2 separate regions of the Homo sapiens genome follow, and region 1 is linked to region 2. The links are contacts of gene promoters, found by promoter capture Hi-C in blood cells and fetal thymus (Javierre and others, 2016). All regions are on one chromosome and are shown on one strand. Each heading gives the region's core, a stretch centred on a gene start or on the middle of the fragment in contact. The rest is flanking DNA. Distances are from core to core; before and after follow the strand shown. Region 1 overlaps GSK3B-DT (GSK3B divergent transcript). Region 2 holds the start of NDUFB4 (NADH:ubiquinone oxidoreductase subunit B4).

Evidence for each region. The method cuts DNA at HindIII sites, captures the fragments that hold promoters and counts their contacts. A CHiCAGO score of 5 or more calls a contact.
Region 1: a contact is called between a fragment that was not itself captured here and the fragment with the promoter of NDUFB4 in region 2, in 1 of 17 cell types (activated CD4 T cells). The highest score is 5.7, in activated CD4 T cells.

Annotation. Positions count from the first base shown.
Region 1 is chr3:120,096,832-120,103,458 of GRCh38, forward strand. All of the region lies in intron 1 of GSK3B-DT (GSK3B divergent transcript), which reads left to right. Among named protein-coding and RNA genes, the nearest start is that of GSK3B-DT, 5.0 kb to the left of the region's middle. The HindIII fragment of the contact is 4,151 bases long and covers 1,297-5,447 here.
Region 2 is chr3:120,592,277-120,598,862 of GRCh38, forward strand. It overlaps NDUFB4 (NADH:ubiquinone oxidoreductase subunit B4), which reads left to right and starts at 4,060. Exons shown (of 3, transcript NM_004547.6): 1 at 4,060-4,263. The coding sequence starts at 4,084. RefSeq lists enhancers at 4,131-4,470, 5,511-5,580. The HindIII fragment of the contact is 1,375 bases long and covers 3,543-4,917 here.

The DNA.
Region 1 (6,627 bases), core at 2,122-4,621, 500 kb before region 2:
TTCATGTTGGTCAGGCTGGTCTCGAACTCCCGACCTCAGGTGATCTGCCTGCCTCAGCCTCACAGAGTGTCAGGATTACAGGCGTAAGCCACCACACCGGGCCGGTTGAAATTTATCTTTAAAATAGTGCACCTTTAATCCTTTTTTTATTTCTGTGTGTATCTTATAATGTGCATATCATGTTAGCTCAAGATCAAGAGTTTATGGACAAGCCAGGAGTGGTGGCTTATGACTGTAATCCCAGCAATTTGGGAGGCCGAGGCAGGTGGATCGCCTGAGGTTAGGAGTTCAAGACTAGCCTGGTCATCATGGTGAAACCCCGTCTCTACTAAAACTTTAAAACTTAGCTGGGCGTGGTGGCGGGCGTCTATAATACCAGTTACTTGGGAGGCTGAGGCAGGATAATTGCTTGAACCCAGGAGGTGGAGGTTGCAGTGAGCTGAGATCGCACCATTGCACTCCAGCCAAGGCAACAAGAGCAAAACTCCGTCTCAAAAAAAAAAAAAAAAAAAAAGTTTATGAACCACTAGTTTAGACAAAGAATAGTTGTACAGTTGTACAGATGGATAAGGAAGGAAAGAACATTCCAGGCAAAGAGAAAAGGTTATGCAATGGCTGAAATGTTTAACAAGGTATTTGGAGACCTTGAGATAGTTTGAAATTATGTAATGTCTAAGATGTGGGCCAAGAGAAAATAAAGGAAAATATCACAGGATAATAGAGGAGTAAAGTAAACTATGCTGTATTAACTCCATATTAGGCAGCCAGTAAAAATAAATACAACCACCAAAAGTAACTCAGAAATATGTTTAGGAAACAATACTAATTGAAAAATATAGAACTTCAGGTTGTATATCTACCATATTTCCAATCTGTAAAATATAAGTACATTTGGATCAAGATTGGAAAGGAAGACAAATTAGAATAACTCGTCAATAACATATTTAAATATAAATGAAAATATTTAAATGTCTTTGCTTAGTATTTTTATAATAAATTTCTATTTTTTTACTTTTATTTATCTTTTAATCTCACTGTTATCCAGGATGGAGTGCAGTAGCACAGTCATAGCTCACTATGGCCTTGAACTTCTGGGCTCAAGCAGTCCTCCCACCTCAGCCTCCTAAGTAGCTGGGATTACAGGTGTAAGCCACTGTACCCCACCTCTGTGTTTGATTTTAAGGGGAATTGGCCCAAAAAATAACATTTATATTATTTCTTCACTATGATTCACATGTCCCTCAGAAGCCTCTAATTACAATGGAATTCTTAAAAAAAATTCACATTTCTCAGCAAAGCTTTCCAACGAAAATTTTTATGATAATCCTTTGTCATATAAGTTAAAATAGTAAAACTAGACAATAGTGAGTAAGTATTATATTTGAGACACCTGCTAGGCATCTGATATAAGGTGGATGAGAGGATCAGTGTCCTTTGGGAGTTTACCCTCTAGGGAAGCAACTACATGAAAAGTTAAATAAATTATAAAAATCACATTTTGAATTGATAAAAGTTATGAGACAGAACATAATTTGGTTTTTATTTATTTTTTTGAGACAGGGTCTCACTTTGTCCTCCAGGCTGGAGTGCTGCGGCCTCAACCTCCCAGGTTCAAGGGATCCTGCTGCCTCAGCCCCCCAAGTAGCTAGGACTACAAGGGTGCACCACCACACCCAGCTAATTTTTGTATTTTTTGTATAAATGGGGTTTCGCCATGTTGCCCAGACTGGTCTCAAACTCCTGGGCTCAAAATCTGCGTGCCATGGCTTCTCAAAACGCTAGGATTACTGGCGTGAGTCACCATGCCTGGCCTATAATTTGTTAATATGGTTGTTACTACAAAGTTTAAAATAAATTGCCCATGCATTCCTATTTATAATAGGTGAGTGGAGGACACTTCAATCTAAAGTGATCTTAAAGGAGGAGTAGTAGGATTTGAAGATGAAGAAAGAAGAGGGGAGGTAAATTACTTTCCATCACTTCAATTTCAACCCATCAGATAAAACCTCTCTTTAGTAAACCTGCATGTGGGTGGAGCTGTAACAGCAATTAAGGACAGTGTGACTCTGTTCTTCTGACTTTGGGAAAACCAGTTTGGCTGGAACAAAAAGCTGATAGAGAAGACTAATGGAAGATAAGGTTGAAAAGGTAGGTTTGAGGGAGCTTTGTTACAGGAAAAAAAAAAAAAAAAAACTGGGCTTTGTCCTGTAGACAGTGGAGAGGTACTTTAGCAGATGTAAGACATTACCATTATAGGAAAGCCTCTGAAGTAACATACACTGTGGTTTTTCCTGTTGCTGAAAATATGCCCAGAGTAACAAGATGTGGCATAGTTGGTTATGTGTCTTATAACCAGTGAGGTGTGCCCAAATGGGAAATTAATGAATGACTACCCAAAAAGAAGAGGGAGAGTGTTTGAAACACTGTCACTGTGAAATAGACTGGTTGTATGAAAAGTTGCATATCAAGCCTTTGGCAAATTATATAAATACTCTGATTTTGACATCTTAAAGGAGTATACTATAGAAAATAAAAGAAAAACACTTGAATCTGTTACAGGAAACGGGTCATGATCCAGACCCCAGGAGAGGGTTCTTGGATCTCACACAAGAAAGAATTCAGGGTGACCCCACAGTGCAAAAGTCAAAGCAAGTATTAAGAAAATGAAGGAATAACAGAATGGCTACTACATAGAGCAGCCCTGAGGGCTGCTGGTTGCCCTTTTTTTTTTTTCCTTTGAGATGGAGTTTTCGTTCTTGTTGCCCAGGCTGGAGTGCAATGGCGTGATCTCGGCTCACCACAACCTCCACCTCCCAGGTTCAAGCAATTCTGCCTCAGCCTCCCGAGTAGCTGAGATTACAGGCATGCGCCACCACGCCCGGCTAATTTTGTGTTTTTAGTAGAGTGAGGGTTTCTCCATGTTGGTCAGGTTGGTCTTGAACTTCCGACCTCAGTTGATCTGCCCGCCTTGGCCTCCCAAAGTACTGGGATTACAGGCATAAGCCACCGCACCTGGCCTGGTTGCCCATTCTTTATGGTCGTTTCTTGATGATATGCTAACCAAGGAGTGGATTAATCATGCCTCCCCTTTTTGGACCACATAGGGTCTAAACTGTCATGGCACATTTGTAAACTGTCATGGCACTGGTGGGAGTGTAGCAGTGAGGACGACCAGAGGTCACTCTCGTCGCCATTTTGGTTTTGGTGGGTTTTGGCCAGCTCCTTTACTGCAACCTGTTTTATCAGCAAGGTCTTTAAGACCTGTATTTTGTGCTGACCTCCTATCTCATCCTGTGACTTAGAATGCCTTAACTGACCATCTGGGAATGCAGCCCAATAGATTTCACCCTCATTTTGCCCGGCTCCTGTTTAAGATGGAGTTGCTCTGGTTCACATGCCTCTAACAAATCCTTTTAGTTTTTCATGCTTGTCACATGTTTACTTCTAAGGGTATAATCATGTGGTTTACTATATTATTACCGATTAGATTATTTTGAACTACTTCAATTTTATTTATTTTACCTCATTTCCATTCACATTTTTTGAAAAGAGCTTTTTTATACAAGAGTGTAAATATTTTCACATTGAATAAATGAATTGAAAACAGTATGTGTTGATTGAATACTTGAAGTATACTTCTTTACAGCAAATTCTAGGAATTCAGCTTTGTTTTATGTGCATTAAAATGTAATAAATATAGGCCTGAGAAATTCTCAGAACAAATATTTTAGGCCCTCAGTAGCTGTAAATCGGGAACGGTCAGATTTCCTTCACATGGAAATGGGACTCACATCTCTCAGAATGGAACAGAAGTCTTTTGGTCTTTAATCTATGTCATGTTGATGGGAAATGTGAAAGCTACAAGAAAATTGGTATTTGGTTTCTTGGATATTGAATATCCTTGGCCAGGGGTGCAGGGAAGTGAAAAAAAAGTAAGACCTCCTATGGATCATCCAAAAAGGAATTTCAGAATGCAGAGAGGACTGGTCTCCCTTAATCAGGCCAAAACTTTATTTGAATTGTATCAGGATGCTTCATTCCTGTGCCCTGTAGGATGGAATCTTGAAAGAAAATGGGAAGGAATGTACAAAGCCTCAAGGAATGTGTTTCTCTGTAACATCTAGATCAGACAGTAGTATGAAGTGCCAGATATGAAACCAGAAAGGATCCTTATGAGAGTTTATAGCTCAGTTTTAAGATGTTTTACTATCTCTGCTGTCTTATTTTTTTATTTTTATTTTTAGAGATGGGGTCTCGCTCTGCTGCCCAGGCTGGAGTGCAGTGGTGTGATCATAGCTCACTGCAACCTCAAACTCCTGGGCTCAGGTCAACCCTCCTGCCTCAGCCATGCCCTGCCACTGCCCCCTTCCCCCGCAGTAGCTGGGGCTACAAGTGCATGCCACCACACCCAGCTATTTTAATTACTTTGTAGAGACAGGGTCTTGCCATGTTGTCCAGGCTGGTGCTGTTGTTCTTTATTTTTACAATGTATATTGTGTATGCACTAGTAGTGTTCAGTACTTGAAGATAAAAGTAGTAATTTAGGAAAAATAACCATTATTCCCCTAACTAAATCTTGCTACTCTTAGGACCAGTTAGGAGTCTTAGGAAAATATCAACTCTGATTGTTTTTTCTTTTCTGTTTGTTTGTTTTTATTGTTGTTGTTATTGTTTAGATAATTTGTTGCTCTGTCACCCAGGCTGGAGTGCAGATGTGTGATCATGGCTCACTGCAGCCTACCTCCAGGGATAAAGCAATCCTCCCGCCTTAGCCTCCCAAGTAGCTGGGACTTACAGGCACACAACTGACCTAGCTAATTTTTTTATTTTTGTAAAGGCAGAGGTCTTCCTACGTTGTCCAGACTGGTCTTGAACTCCTGGCCTCAAGCAATCCTCCCACCTTGGCCCCCAGAGTGCTGGGATTACAGGTGTGAGCCACTATACCCAGTCTGGTTTTTTTTCTTTTTTTTTTTTTTTTTTTTTTTTTTGAGGACTCAACATGTCCGAGACAGTTGAGTACACTTCTACTTTCTCTAACCACTTCTTGACAATTTGAATACAGTTTTCATTTTTAGTCTTCTTATCAAAAGTGTTCCAATTGTACTTTTTATCCTTAAGGACTTTAAATATGATTATATAGAATTTCATAAATTTTGCTGGCCTGTGTTGGACAACACATGAAAAGACACGAATATCCTAATTCCACCAGGAAGTGCTTGTTGTCTACTGTGTGCCCAGGTCTGTGCCACATATGGTGGGAAACATTTGCTTGCAACAAATTGAGAAAACTGCTGTATATGCTTTAAAACCTAACTGGTTTATTCAACTGCATTTTAAAAATATTTCCAAGGCCAAAGGCTCTTGGACCCTTTTAGAATTAAAAACAAATATCTTACACAGCCATATCAGCTGGAACTCTGAGGAAGCAAACTATCCTATGGAGGTTAAGCTTTTAATCTGGCATGAGAGGAGTTAAAGTGAAGTACTTCTAAGCACCAGAGAAACCATCTAGTGGGAAAAAAAGAATTCATCAACAGGGAGTTGCCAAATGAGGACACGCACATGCTTTGCCTTCATTATCTAACTTTCTTCCAGTATAAATAGAATTACATGGAGGTGTAAGGCATTTCTCTTGATCTCAGTCAATGCTGTGCACATCGTGGGAACTCAGTAAATGTTGGCAAAATGAGTAGTGTGATTGTAATTGAAAAAGCGAAACAATTATAACCATCAAAATTACAACTTTATAAAATATCTGCATATGGACAAGCACTCTGAGAAAATACTCCCCCCAAAAAAGTTGTTTTATTAATTTTTTAGTTTTCTGAATTTTTTCTTACATTAATTTTTTTCCTATTATCGGTTCTACAATATAATTTGAGTATCAAAATTTCTTAATTAGATGCATTCAAATAGAATCACAGCTTGGGGCAAGTCTCCGTTCACCACCAGGCTTCAAACATGTCATGGCATATCTGGCAAATTGGTAGTTTCAGGCTGCCAAGAGGTGATTTACATAAGGGTTTTGGTGGAAAGACTGCCAAGAAGTGTGGATGACAGAGAGGTGGGGGTTGGCCAGACTGCTTTTCAGTCAATTTGCACAGCTACAGTGCACCAGCCAGTGTTCCAGTTGGTCAGTGCCCATGCCATGCCAGCTGTTAATCCTTGGATTGAGGGAATGACACCTTACCTATCTTGAAGATTCATATTCCAATACAGCCTCGTGGAGTCCACTAGGAAAGTACCAAGAGCAGAAATAGGAGTGCACTAAAATCATTACTACATCACACAACATAATCAAAAGATGAGGGGTTACAGCTTGTTGCCACTTGTGCAGAAAATGATGGCACGATTTTGCAGTATTGGAGATTCCAGGAAACAAGCATTTTGATTCTTTGAGGGCCACAACGGAGGTCATGAAGATGTCCAGCAGCACATGGTAATGACCTGGCTTAATGGGGCTGGCTCACTGATGAGTACTAGAAGTGTTCAAGAAAACTCAGCAGCAGATATCCACGTGGCCGCAGATATGCCTTATTCTTGAGCCCATGTAAAACACTGTGTAGGGGCTCTTAGAAATTATGGGCAGAGGATTTTGCAAGGAGCTGAAGTTCGGCATCAGCAAGC
Region 2 (6,586 bases), core at 2,810-5,309:
GGAGTCTTCTTTAAGAAAAATTACACAAAACTACAAATACAATTAGATATAAATGAGAAAAATCACAATAAATTACAAATTTAAAACATAAACATCACAAAATGAAATATATAAAAGAAATAATAAAATATTTGTATTAATTTTCTGATATACCTCTATATTTTTTCCTACATATTTTGGCTGCATACACTTTGTTTGCCTCTTCAGATGGCAAGATTGTTGTAATATTGTATTCTATAGAGGAAAAAGCAAGACAATACAGTGCTTTCTTGATGCACCTTTCTTACAGTTTCTATATCCACCTATTCATCTTCTGTTCCCCAAAACCCTGCCCTATCCACATAACTTAACCACCCCTTCCCATTTGCATTCCTTCTTCACTTCACCACATCATCCCCCTTCTTCCAGCCAAACACAGGTACATATACTTTGTCCTTGTAACCCATGACCTGATAAACTCTGTTAGGAGGTTTCTTAGGAAGTAAAAGTCTTCAAAACAGGAAATATTCATTGATGAAATGACAACTTGTGAAATTGTTCCCCACTTAAATTGTCCAATCTTTTAACCTTAGTGCCTATACCCACTTCTATCAAAATCCTTGTCATTCATTTGGAAATATCTAGCCCTCAAATACAACTGAAATCTATTGCAAATTAAAAGTGCAAATTTACAAAAGATGTGGAATTTCATGATCTTGAAATTGATGTTAGTAAACTGCTGGATCCACATGCAAAGTCATTAATAAAGGAGGACTTCACAGAGTTGGACCAGATAACAAATGAAAAAGAGAAAAACAATGAGAACGATGTTGACATCAATACATCAAAGAGAAATAATCTGATTTCAAAGGATTAAGAGAGGTCTTTGGGAAAACTAGATAAACGCCTCCAAAACTTTTGCAAGTAAGACCCTGCAGCAAAAATCAAATGCACAGTGAAGGATAATGAGCCATATAAAAAATTATGTCCCTCCTCCAAAACAACATTTGAGTTACCAGAATTAGCACATACTTGCAGTTGTAACCTAACGTGTTAAATATAAGATAAATTCATTTTTATAAGTTTGGGTTGAATTTTTTTCAATATAAAGTTCAAATCAAGTCTTTTTCTTTCACTCTTTCACTATGGAATCTACATCTCTATCTTTAATGGATTCATTCTAAGAGGGCCTTTTCTGGTACCAATTATCTTTGGAAAAGAAAGACCTTTTGTACTCATCTCTGTTTTACAAGCATGTAATATATTTTAATACCACCACTCCCCCACTGGAAATTGTAAAAAATACAGACTCTTGGGTTCCTCTGCCATACCAATTTTGAATCTCCAGGTGGAGAACGGGAACTAGGAGTTAAAAAAAAATTCCATATTTTAATTTACTAATTATTTTTACTTCATTTTTTTTTTTAGAGGTGCAGTCTCACTATGTTGTCTAGGCTAGACTTAAACTCCTGGGATCAAGGGATCTTCCGGCCTCAGCCTCTCCAGTAGCTGGGACTACAGGTACATGCTACCACACCTGGCTAAACTCCCTTTTTTTTTAACACTCATCATAAGCAATCCTCGTGATAATCAGGCAAGTGTGGTAATAACTACTTTAACTCATCCAAAGCTTTCTTTATAGTAACCTTAAGAAATCTTCTTTAACCTAGTCAGCTGGTTTGAGGTAGGAGGTAGGACTCGGACACCGAACCAAATTGAGCACTAGCCTAAACAGGTCGGAGGTGGAAGCCGCTTTCCATCAGATACACACACCAGTGTGTCAGTTCATCATTGCCATGGCAACACCCAGGAGTTACCACCCCTTTCCAGGGCAATGACCTGATGACCCAAAAGTTGCTACCCCTTCCCTAGAAATGTCTGCATAAACTGCCTCTTTACTTTTTTGTCTGTTTGTTTGTTTGTTTGAGACGGAGTCTCGCTCTGTCGCCCAGGCTGGAGTGCAGTGGCGCGATCTCGGTTCACTGCAAGCTCCGCCTCCCTGGTTCACACCATTCTCCTGCCTCAGCCTCCCGAGTAGCTAGGACTACAGGCGCCCGCCACCACGCCCAGCTAATTTTTTTTTGTATTTTTAGTAGCGACGGGGTTTCACCGTGTAAGCCAGGATGGTCTTGATCGCCTGACCTCGTGATCCGCCCGCCTCGGCCTCCCAAAGTGCTGGGATTACAGGCGTGAGCCACCGCGCCCGGCCAAACTGCCAAATGTGGGTATAAATGTGACTCAAAGCTGGCCTGAGCTGGTGCTTTCTGCCTATGAGGTGGCCCTGCTCTACAGGAGCAGTCACGGTTGTGACACCACCAAAGCTGTAACACTGCCTCTTCAATAAAATTGTTTTCTTCTACCTCCGGGTTGCCCTTGAATTCTTTCCTGGGCAAAGCCAAGTTCCCTGGTTGCCTAAGCCCCACTTTGGGGCTCGCCTGCCCTGCATCAGTTCGTACTCGCTGGACTCATTCCTTTATCCTTTTATTCTTTTTACATGCTCTCCTTCCTAGATCAGTGTCTAATCTATACAGGTTTTGGAAACTTTATGTAGTCTTTAGAATTTTATAAACTGCTCTTGCTTTTCATATTGTATTATTTTCTTAGTATTTCAAAACACCTTTGAACAAGTCAGAATTTCCTTTTTTTTTCTCCTTTAAAATCGAGTCTGAGTAACTCGTCTTGTGTTCATTTTTTCTACATTCTCTCAGCCTGAATCCTCATGAGTCCATTTTGCTCTATATTCATCTGGACATTAGACTACTTTGAAATATTACCATTTCTGCCTATTCTTTCTGTACTGCCTGATTGTCAGCTCCCGAAAGGCAAACACCCCATCTTCCATTTTGTCTGGATTTCCCCCACTGAGCCTAGAAGATTGACTTAACACTGACTAGTGTGCTGTGTGCTTCACGCGGTGGGTGCTTAATAAATATTTTAAAACAGTATTAAAATGTTGAATAAATTTGACAGCAGTGCTGCTTCTCATCATTTCAAATGCCAACACTTTCTAGGTCCCTTTTCTAGCAACCATTTCCCAACATACCTACGCGCCCCCAGACGTTTCAGCCAAGCTGGGGCTCTCTTTTGATCCATCCTTCTTTGCCCGAGTTATGGAAATATTGTTTACATTTTTTCCCCTGAGGAGAAGGGGAACCCAAAGACCCTGCTGTGAAACTTGAAGTTGTTTTTCTCCTTGGTAACTGGGGAGAAGGAAGGACAGTAGGGACAGAGAAGGTTTTGTTTCTGATTACTTCAGTTTTCGCCCCAGATCGTCTTTTACAATAAGATACATGCCCCTATGAGTATTTTCATACCTGTAAGGATGTTTTTAATTCTTTGCATCTGAAGAGTGCTAAGGATTTTAGGCAAGAGGTTTTAGTATTTTAACTAAGATGTTTTCTCATGAGCTTTATTCAGTATCTCATTTTCTTCCTGACCTTCTATAGTCAGTCAGGCAACATTTCTCTTATAACATCATTTTTCCTATTAATCATTATTTCGTACCTGTGAAAAATAAGCTTACACTTAATGTTGTATGAATCTAGCATGGTAAAGTACAGAAAAGCTTATTCTCTTCTTCTTGGGTAGGGAATTCTGTTTTGCAAAGCACTTTGTGATCTATTTGTTAGCTTATTTAATCCTCACAACAACTTTGCTAGGTGGACAGGAGTCATTATCTCCAGGATAAGGAAAAGGAAACTCAGAGACTTTAAGTGACTTATCCAAGGTGACACAGCACGGTTAGACCCACAATGAAAACCCGGACTTCTGACTCCACAGCCAGTCCCACACAGCTCAACTTTACATAATAAGCCCTGGTTATGTCAGTAGAGACAAGGCTGCTAGGAAGAAGCAGCGCGGTGACAGATGAGTAGGTGGGGAGCGGCGGTGGGGCAGGGCGCACTGCGAGAAGAGCACTTCGCGCATGCGCATATCACCGAGCGAACGCGCCGTGTTCGGGAAGGTAGGAGAAAGAGGCGGAGCTCCTTGTTAACGACATCCCCAACCTCTGCTAACGCGCAGGCGCACTTCCTGAAGCTGAAGGTCAGCATAGACAAAGGGCCTCAGAATCGCGCAGGCGCAATTGTGCCCTGGTTCGCCAAGATGTCGTTCCCAAAGTATAAGCCGTCGAGCCTGCGCACTCTGCCTGAGACCCTCGACCCAGCCGAATACAACATATCTCCGGAAACCCGGCGGGCGCAAGCCGAGCGGTTGGCCATAAGAGCCCAGCTGAAACGAGAGTACCTGCTTCAGTACAACGATCCCAACCGCCGAGGGCTCATCGTGAGTGTGGGGCCTCCCAGGCGGGAATAGGGCCCGAGTCCTGGGAGAGACCGAGAGAGACCACGCAAAGGGTCGGCCACCGCTCCCGATCAGTATCTCAGACGCAGGTCCTCTTCCAGGCCTAGCCAACTCACTACCCTTTTACCTTTGCCAGAGCTTGGCCCTCGAGAGGACCGGCTCTGGACTCAGACCTGGCTGGGTTTGAATCCTGGCTTGATCACTTCCTGCCTGCGTGACCTTAAGAACGTTATTCACTCTGCTTATCCTCGATTTTCTGTCTGCAAAATGGGCGTAATATAGTGCTTACTCTTTTATCAGGCTGTTAGGATTAAATGAGATAGAGTATGTGACTGTCCTAGCACAGTGCCTCGTTCGTAAGGCGTGTTCAGAAAATGTTTCTATATATATGCATATATATATTATATTATATATATATTCTATATATATGCATATATATTATATTCTATATATATGCATATATATTTTATATATATGCATATATATTATATTCTATATATATGCATATATATTTTATATATATATATAATTTTAAAGAGCTGGTGTTTACCTTTCAGTTCACAGCTCATAGGGATACTGCTCTCTCCTGATGGGAATACAGTGATTCCTTCAACCTGCATCTTTTAAAGACCCTGAAGCTTGCTGAAGTTCTAGGCTTTGGAGTCAGAACCCAAAGCACTACTCATTGGCTAACTCTGTTACCTTGGGCAACTTCAACTCCTCTGAATTATAGTTTCCTGGTTTCGTATATAAATGATGTGCATTATGAGGTTAAATAAGACAGTCTGTGTAACATTCGCAGCACATAATATATGCCCAGTAAACTGGTAATTAACAGGTGTGCTTTCATTAGGTAGTTTTCTATACAGGAACTAAGTAGGTTAAATATGATGTTAACAGAACAGGACTGGACTTTTCCCACACGTTGCATTGGTGTTTTGGAATTTTTGGAAGTTATGAGGATTGAATGAAAGTTACAATGTGCCAGGCACTGTGCTAAAACTCTTTTTGAGTACTATTTACATATCACAACTATTTGGATGATTAAGCTCTACTACTGTCCCCATTTTACAGATGAGAAGACAACATGGGAAGGACAAGTAGGTCATACAGAGATACCTCTTTAGTAGGTGATAGAGCAAAATTCTAACCCTGGTTTGTGTAACCCACAGCATCTGCTTTTAACTAGTTGGTTATACTGTCTCCAGCCAGAACCTTGTTAACTTGGGAAGAGGGTGCAGAGAGACACATTTATTACAAACTCACATGATTGGGTTTGATGTGTTAGTGTGATGCATTAAAAAAGAATAAGGCCTCAGTCAGACCTGAAATTGAAACCAAGATCTTCTGTCTTCTAGCTGTATGCCTCAGGGTAGTTTCAATTTTCTCATGTGTAAATAGAGGTAATACTACCAGTCTCTTTGGTTCTGTTGATTAAATGAGTGTGTGACACTATCATTTATTAATCAATACATGTAAATTCTCTTGCCTAATTTTTTTTTTTTTTTCCCTTGAGACAGGATCTTACTCTGTCACCCAGGCTGGAGTGCAGTGGTATGATCTCGGCTCACTGCAACCTCTGCCTCCCGGGCTCAAGCTGTCCTCCCACCTCCGCCTTCCAAGTAGCTGGGACCACAGATGTGCGCTACCATGTCCGGTTAAGTTTTTGTATTTTTTATAGAGATGGAGTTTCATCATTTTGCCCAGGCTGGTCTTGAACTCCTGAGCTCAAGCGATCCTCCTGTCTCCGCCTCTCAGAGTGCTGGGATTACAGACTTGAGCCACTGTGCCTGGCCATCTTGCCTAATCTTTAAGAATGATTGATTGAATCAATAAATAATTGCTCAGGGTCTGTTATGGCCCTATTTTACATGCCAAGATAACAATGGAGATCAAAACAGGCAAAAATTCCTGTCCTTGTAGAACAAACTTTCTAGTAGGGGAGACAAGAAACAAGTTAAAAAATTAAAATCATTTAACATGTTAGTGGTAAGTGATGAGAAAAAAAATAAAGCAGGGGAGATTTGGAGTGTGTGTAAGTAGTAGGGGAGGTAAGCAGCTACAATCTTAGGCCCAGGGAAGCCCTCTGTTTGAAGGTGACATCTGAATAAAGATCTGAAAGAAGTGGGGTGAGGGACCTAGCTCTCTAGGAAGGCAGCCTACTCATCAGAGAACGGCAAGTGCAAGGGCCATTAGGCAGGAGAGTGTCAGGTTAATTGAAAAAACACTGGAGAGACCATTGTGACTAAAGTGGAGAAAGGTGAGGGCAGAGTGGGACAAGATCACACCAGGCCTTGTAGGTAAT